2 separate regions of the Homo sapiens genome follow, and region 1 is linked to region 2. The links are contacts of gene promoters, found by promoter capture Hi-C in blood cells and fetal thymus (Javierre and others, 2016). All regions are on one chromosome and are shown on one strand. The core of a region is centred on a gene start or on the middle of the fragment in contact, and the rest is flanking DNA. Distances in the headings are between cores, read along the strand shown. Region 1 holds the start of RNF44 (ring finger protein 44). Region 2 holds the start of DDX41 (DEAD-box helicase 41).

Region 1 (3,684 bases), core at 1,100-3,599, 980 kb after region 2:
GGCAGGCAGTAATCTAACAAATATGTAGGTACCTTCAAATGTGGGGAGGGTTTTTTTTTTTTTAAGACGGAGTCTCGCTCTGTCACCCAGGCTGGAGTGCAGTGGCGCAATCTCAGCTCACTGCAACCTCCACTTCCCATGTTCAAGCGATTCTCCTGCCTCAGCCTCCTAAGTGGCTGGGACTACAAGTGCATGCCACCATGCCCAGCTAATTTTTGTATTTTTTGTGGAGACAGGGTTTCACCATGTTGGTCAGGCTGGTCTCAAACTCCTGACCTTGTGATCTGCCCGCCTGGATCTCCCAAAGTGCTGGGATTACAGGCGTGAGCCACCGTGCCCGGCCATGGGGAGGGTTTTCAAATTGCTTTTATGTGGTGGGGAAAACAAAAGGTTGAAGGAGACATTGGAGGTAAAGGAACAGTTGATGATAAGGAACTGGGTAAAGACATAACCTTGTATAGCCACACTTATTCTCATGCACATGTAATTTTTAACTGTGATGGATAGAGTTTGGCGTTCCAGGGAGCATCGATAGCACTGCATCATGACCTTGCTCTTGTGTTGCTTAGAGATCTGCCGACAGCCGGCTCAGTTCCATCTTCAGTCATTGTGTTGCACAGTGATACGATCATTGCTGGTCTAAACATTGCCATAAACATGTCTGTTCCCCAAGCTGAAAGGGGGTTTCTGATTCTAAGGGAACAAAAGGTTTTCTGGCTTAAAAGACTTAAGACATAGTCTTTATAATAGCTTTCTTTAAAAATTTCAGTGGGTTATAATGCATAGGGTTTTTAAAAAAGAGCTAATGTGCAATATATACAATAGTCTATCCTACTGACCCAACTTCTCCCTTCCAGTTCTCCCTAAGGACAATTGTTAATCAGTTTCCTGTATACCCTTCCAGAAATATATGCAGATGTGGCATATGTCCAATTAAAGAAACCTGATACATACTGTTAGAACTGTTCAGCATCTTGGTTTCAATTTTTATATAAAATTTAGGATTACGAAATATACCAAAGCAGCATAGAAAATGAGCCCCCCATCCCCCTGCCCCATGGCCCACCACACAGGTTAACAGATGTTAACATTTTGCATTGGCGCCTTGTTTATGGCTGTCTTGGAGATAGCCCCGTGTCGCCTCCAGCTGCCTCTTTGTGGTAACTGCCCAAGAGTCGTTATTGATTATATGCATGCACCCAATATTCATTATTCGACCTGTTCCAGCTCTTGGATATTTAGCAAATTACTGATTTTCTGCTTATATAATTGTGGTGGAGGTAATACCCCATTTTGTATAAATTTTGCCCGGGTGGGTGGGCTTCGAGGCAAAGGAGAACGAGGCTCGGCTTTGGATTAGGTTCACACTCCTGCTCCGCCACACTTCTAGTTGTGTGATCTGGAGTAAGGGAAGGCCCTCACTTTCCCCATCTGTAAAATGAACTGGCTATAGTAATCCCTCCGTCTCATAGCTGCTGAGAGGAATAGAAAACTAAAGTATAGACGCTTCACTGGGCTTAGTTCCCAGTTTCCCTGGCTAGGGAGGTCTCCGCGGGGACACCAAACTCTCAAGCCCAGCCTAGCAGCTAGAGCGCCCAGCGCCTGCACTTTTGCTTTAAACTACAACCTGTTCCCCGCCTCTCTTCCTCCACCGCCACGCTGGGGGCGTGGCGGTTAAATGTCTCTGTGACGTCAGCGCGAGCAGGGCCAATCTCCTTGCCCGGCAGACGTTAGCTCGTTTGCATGGGTGGTCCGCCATTGGTCTGTTGGGCAATCTGGGCCGTACCAGCTTTTTAAAGACGCCGTGTAGTATAAACAAGGAGAAGTGGGGCGGCCGGGCCATGATGTCAGCGCGGTGCTGCAGCTCTTGGGGGTGACGTCATCTCCGGGAAGGTGGCCGGCCCAGGGTTGTTAGAGCCAGCATAACCACTTGGGCCGCTCTCGCCCCGTCAGAGGTCAGACCCATTGCACTTCAGTATCTCAGGCGGCACCCTGTCCCCGAGGAGGGGACCATGACACAGTAAGTCCGTACTGCCGGTTCTCCTGGCGGGACCCATTTCTTCGGCAGGGAAACTGAGCCTCAGAGGCGCGAGTAGTTAGCGAGTTTGCATAGCAAGTTCGAGTTGCAGCCGATCGGTTTTGCCCACCCTGGGGTCTCCCCATCTTTATGTCAGGATATGCGGCCCCGCCCCTTGCTTTTGACTATGGCTGCGGTCCCTTTAAGTGCGAAGGTGGGGGCGAGGAGGAGGTTAAAAAAATTCAAGATGGTGGCCCACTAGTCACGTGCGTGGTCGCGGCGAGTGATTGGCTCTCAGGGCGGAGCTCCCGGCGCGGGGCGGGGCCCCTGCGGGCTTGCAGCGGGCTACTGTTTGCCGGAGCCTCCCGGCGCGCCCCCGCGAGCCCCCTCCCGTCTGGCGCGCGACCCCGCCGCTTCGAATGTTGTGAATCAAATGTGGGGTTTGTTACATTCCGCTGCCGCCGCGGACAGTTCTTAAAGGGCCAGCCGCCGGCTGCCGCGCAGACCCAGCTGCGTCCTGCGCCGCCTCCCGCTCCCTGAGGGCCTGGGCCGAGAGAGACTGATCGCGCGTGGGCCTCGCGAGGCAGACGCCGTCGGGCGGACAACAAAGAGAGAGGCCCCGGAAGGAGCCGGGCTGCCCCCGGACCCGGGGGTGGGGAGGGGAGCACATTGTTCCGCAGGGCGGGAGCTCTTAAAGGATCCAGACAGGCACCCCCCCCCTCCCCCGCCCCCTGCCCAGTTTGGCCGTCCTAGATCGGGAACAAAGGAGTCAACGTGTGGCCGGGCGGCCAAAGGTGAGTCGGTGCCAGGGCCCCCAACTTCCTATTCCCCCACCCATGGACCTTCTGTTCCCCTCCCCTGGGAATGGGGGCCGTGATCTAGGTGGCTCCGTAGGGGTTAATCACGGGCGGTCCAGACTGCGGGCAGCGAGACCCCAGGGATCAGGAACCCCCCCCAAGGCCCCCCGTGGCCGGGCCGTATCTCCCCTCTCCTGCAGCTGAGCGCTGCGGTTGGAGAGGAAGGAGCCGCCCCCCTCCCCCTGCGGCCGCCACTTCCTTTGTTGTTGCTTTTGTCTCACGCCGAGCACATGGTCCGGGATCCTCGGCTCTTAAAGTCGCAGCGTTCTGGCCCCTGCGCTGCAGTCTCGCCTCCCGCCCCCGGTGTCCCTCCGAGAGCGGCGCAAAAGAGTAGGAAGCGGACGAGGGAGGCCCCTCTCGGGGCTGTGTCCGCGCCTCGGCCCCCCAGCACTATGCCTGGGGAGGGGTGGCTGGGTAAGCTTCCCAGAGCCCCACAGCGTGCACTTGGCCCGCGTTGGGGAGCCCCCCCTTCCCCAGGACCCTGGTTTCCTCCCCCACTAGTGTGACCACCTGGTTTCTTCTGGACTCTTCTGGTTTTATTTGGGCGCTGTGGGAAGGAAAGATTTCCACCCCCATTTTATAGCTGTGCCAACTGAGGCGCTCAGAAGCAAAGGGATTTCCTTGACCAAGGTCACTAGGGAGTCTTCTCTCCTAGTCTGGTGGTCCGGCCCTCAGCGGCCTCCAGGCACCACACGTTGGGAAGCTCTGCTTGCGCTGGGCAGAGCCTGCTTGTTTCGGGTGGGGTGTGGGGAAGTAGGAAGGGGGGCTTCTCTTCCTGGCTGAGTCTGCTCATGCCCCCAGGGTCTGACT
Region 2 (3,567 bases), core at 227-2,726:
CGCAATGCTGTTGCCTAGTGAATCTGTGTACTTGCACATCGCCAGACCTGTATTCCTGCAGCGCCCTGGCCCAGGACGCCTCTCCTCTCCCGGCCTGAGATTGCCATGTATTTGGGTGTTGTGAGCAGGACCAGAAACCATGTCCTCCTCCATCCCTCCCAGGTTGAGACCCACCATGGGACTGGCAGTAAGCACCAGCTTATTTTTTTTATAGAGATGGGGTCTTGCTATGTTGTCCAAGCTGGTCTTGAACTCCTGGCTTCAAGCGATCCTCCTGCCTTGGCCTCCCAGAGAGCTGGGATTACAGGAATGAGCCACTGTGCCCAGCCTAAGCTTTCTTTACTAAAGAAGACTTCATGAATTCCTGTGTATCCTTCACATCCCAGCTAAGAGGCCATTGTACTGTGAAAACTATGACACTTCGAAAAGCGGTACCTTGTCTTAGGATCTTTCTCTTTAAGACCAGTTATCTGTCTATATTTCTAGTCTCAATCTACATAAGCTCCTCGCACACCAGGTATGTGTCTTGATTATCATCTGCTTGAGCGCAGTGCCAGCGCCCAGCACACACTCTTGAAGGCAAGAAAGCACAGAGCTGACCAAGTCATTCCTTAGAAGTCTCTAATAAAGTTGAAACCACTTACTCTGACAGTCACAGCAGGCATGCTCTGGTCGCAATCTCCTTTTCTGGCCTTAGGTCTGGCTTCCCCATCCCACCCTTGCCGCAATGCTGTTGCCTGGTGAATCTGTGTACTTGCACATCGCCAGACCTGTATTCCTGCAGCGCCCTGGCCCAGGACGCCTCTCCTCTCCCGGCCTGAGATTGCCACGCTTCCCTGGAAGCGCCCCCCAGGCAGCTCTGTTAGAGCATTTACAGTAATAACCGTTTACATTTATACAGGGCCTCCCACTTCAAAACCACTGCCATCCGTATCTGATGCGTGCCCCACCAGTGAACGTATGTGTCACACAGGCGCAGTCAGGGAGGCAGGGTGTGTCGAGCGGTTTATCCCGCAACCCCGGCGTCCCCGGCAGGGATGAAAGCGCAGGGCCCACGCGAACTCGGCCCGCAGCTCCCGGCCCTAGAGGACGCACTGTCCGCCGGCAGGGGCGTGCCCAAGACGCCATGCTCTGGGAGAGGTTGGGCACCTGGCAGGCCGCCCCGACTCCGGATCAGCTGTCTCCGCTGCGTACGTCTTCCTCTTCCAATGGGCTTGGATTGAGCCTTCTAGCGCATATTCCAAGTCCTCCAATGTCCCACAATGCCTTGCAGCCGGTTTCGCCCTCGGTCCTGGCAACTGTCGCGTAACCACCCATGAAAGCGTCCATGCCTCGCCGTGCGATAGTATCTCCGGAACAAATTTGTCCCTCTGCGCGATCCGGAACTCCGAGGTCGTTCCTACGCGCCGTCGTTCGCCTCTTCACATCGGATTGGGTCTCACGCAAGGATGAGGCGGGGTTTCGCCGTGGCGCGCATGCGTGCAGCAAAGAATGGAGGAGTCGGAACCCGAACGGAAGGTAGGAGAGAGGCGAGACCCCGCGCGTGTGGGAGCGGGCGTGAAGAGGGGAGCAGGCCGTGCCTGACTGGCGTGTGCTTGCAGCGGGCTCGCACCGACGAGGTGCCTGCCGGAGGAAGCCGCTCCGAGGCGGAAGATGAGGACGACGAGGACTACGTGCCCTATGTGCCGTTACGGCAGCGCCGGCAGCTACTGGTGAGGGGCACGCGTCCGGGGAGGGATGGGGCCGTGACCGCGGGGTCGCAGGGGGCGGGCGTGGCCTCGGCCTCCGTGGGGAGGAGGGCAGTCTGAGGAGTGAGCTTCAGTACACCAGGGCGCGGCCCCCAGACAAACGAGGGACCGACGGCTTGATCTGAGGGGTAGGGCAGCTTTGCGCCTCGGGCACAGGATCCTCGCCCCAAAGCCAGGATCCTGACGCTGACCTTGTGGACTCCATGCCCATCCTATCTGTGGATCCCGGGTGGAACCTCAGCTCCAGAAGCTGCTGCAGCGAAGACGCAAGGGAGCTGCGGAGGAAGAGCAGCAGGACAGCGGTAGTGAACCCCGGGGAGATGAGGACGACATCCCGCTAGGCCCTCAGTCCAACGTCAGCCTCCTGGATCAGCACCAGCACCTTAAAGAGAAGGCTGAAGGTGGGCTGGGCAGCACTGCCTGGGCGAGAAAGAAGAAGCTGAGCCTGGTACACCGTTTTGGTATCTGTCTGACATCTTCCACTTCTTTTCTCAGCGCGCAAAGAGTCTGCCAAGGAGAAGCAGCTGAAGGAAGAAGAGAAGATCCTGGAGAGTGTTGCCGAGGGCCGAGGTATGGTTGTAGCCAGGATAGTGAGAAGGTGGACTGAGTCTTCTCCTCCCAGCCCCAGGCATGTTATATCTCAAGGGATCTGGCTTCTCAGAAGCAGGAGCCAGCCCTGAGCCATGTCTCTCTCTTCAGCATTGATGTCAGTGAAGGAGATGGCTAAGGGCATTACGTATGATGACCCCATCAAAACCAGGTATGTCTGTACAGTCTGCAGTTGCCCTTGCTTAGGATGGTACATGCAGGGATGCTCCCAGGCCAGCTATTCCCAGGGCTCTCTTGATCCCTGTTACCCATCCACAGCTGGACTCCACCCCGTTATGTTCTGAGCATGTCTGAAGAGCGACATGAGCGCGTGCGGAAGAAATACCACATCCTGGTGGAGGGAGACGGTATCCCACCACCCATCAAGAGCTTCAAGGAAATGAAGTTTCCTGCAGGTAGTCAGGGGCTGGAGAGAGATACCACACTTTTATAATCAAATGCCTGTGAGGTTATGTCCTGGCTCCCACTGAGCTCAGCCACATCTGCATTGGATCCAGTCACTGGGGCTGGAGGGATTTGAGGAGGAGTTTCTTTAGGTTCCTTGTTGCCTCAGCTGTACGTGTTCATTGTTCTCTGCTGTTACAAAGCTTCAGGAGGAAAGTGCCATTGGGCATAGACACTGGGTACAAATCCTGGCTGCACCTAGCCTGTGGGCCTTGGACAAGTCTCTTTTTTTCTTTTTTTTTTTCCACTCTCTCTCTCTCTCTCTGAGCCTCAGTTTCATCATCTGCAACTTGTAGGGGTAGTGCCAGTTTTACAGGCTTTGGGGCTCTGAGAAAGTACCTGTGAGTCATGAAGACGATGTCGGTTGGTTTTCATAGCCATCCTGAGAGGCCTGAAGAAGAAAGGCATTCACCACCCAACACCCATTCAGATCCAGGGCATCCCCACCATGTGAGTGTGGACTGTGGACCTGGGGTCCTTGAGGAGGGCTGGAACAGGGAGGAGCAATGGCTAGGTGTCCTTCATCTTCTGTTGAAATTGGCCCTCGGGTCATCCTCTCCCAACAGTCTATCTGGCCGTGACATGATAGGCATCGCTTTCACGGGTTCAGGCAAGACACTGGTGTTCACGTTGCCCGTCATCATGTTCTGCCTGGAACAAGAGAAGAGGTTACCCTTCTCAAAGCGCGAGGGGCCCTATGGACTCATCATCTGCCCCTCGGTAAGATAGGCTGGCCTGGAGGGCAGGCCAGAGATTGGGGCTGCCA

What was found. The method cuts DNA at HindIII sites, captures the fragments that hold promoters and counts their contacts. A CHiCAGO score of 5 or more calls a contact.
Region 1: a contact is called between the fragment with the promoter of RNF44 here and the fragment with the promoter of DDX41 in region 2, in 1 of 17 cell types (fetal thymus). The highest score is 5.5, in fetal thymus.

The regions. Positions count from the first base shown.
Region 1 is chr5:176,536,067-176,539,750 of GRCh38, reverse strand. It overlaps RNF44 (ring finger protein 44), which reads left to right and starts at 2,349. Exons shown (of 11, transcript NM_014901.5): 1 at 2,349-2,811. LOC124901143 (a long non-coding RNA gene) reads right to left here and starts at 1,822. Exons shown (of 2, transcript XR_007059071.1): 1 at 1,628-1,822; 2 at 454-693. RefSeq lists enhancers at 1,356-1,535, 1,776-2,215 and silencers at 2,326-2,585, 2,666-2,855. The HindIII fragment of the contact is 3,937 bases long and covers 1-3,295 here.
Region 2 is chr5:177,514,870-177,518,436 of GRCh38, reverse strand. DDX41 (DEAD-box helicase 41) reads left to right here and starts at 1,476. Exons shown (of 17, transcript NM_016222.4): 1 at 1,476-1,518; 2 at 1,602-1,712; 3 at 1,990-2,149; 4 at 2,244-2,318; 5 at 2,448-2,508; 6 at 2,616-2,752; 7 at 3,179-3,251; 8 at 3,368-3,521. The coding sequence starts at 1,492. RefSeq lists enhancers at 1,112-1,381, 1,410-2,234. The HindIII fragment of the contact is 2,611 bases long and covers 336-2,946 here.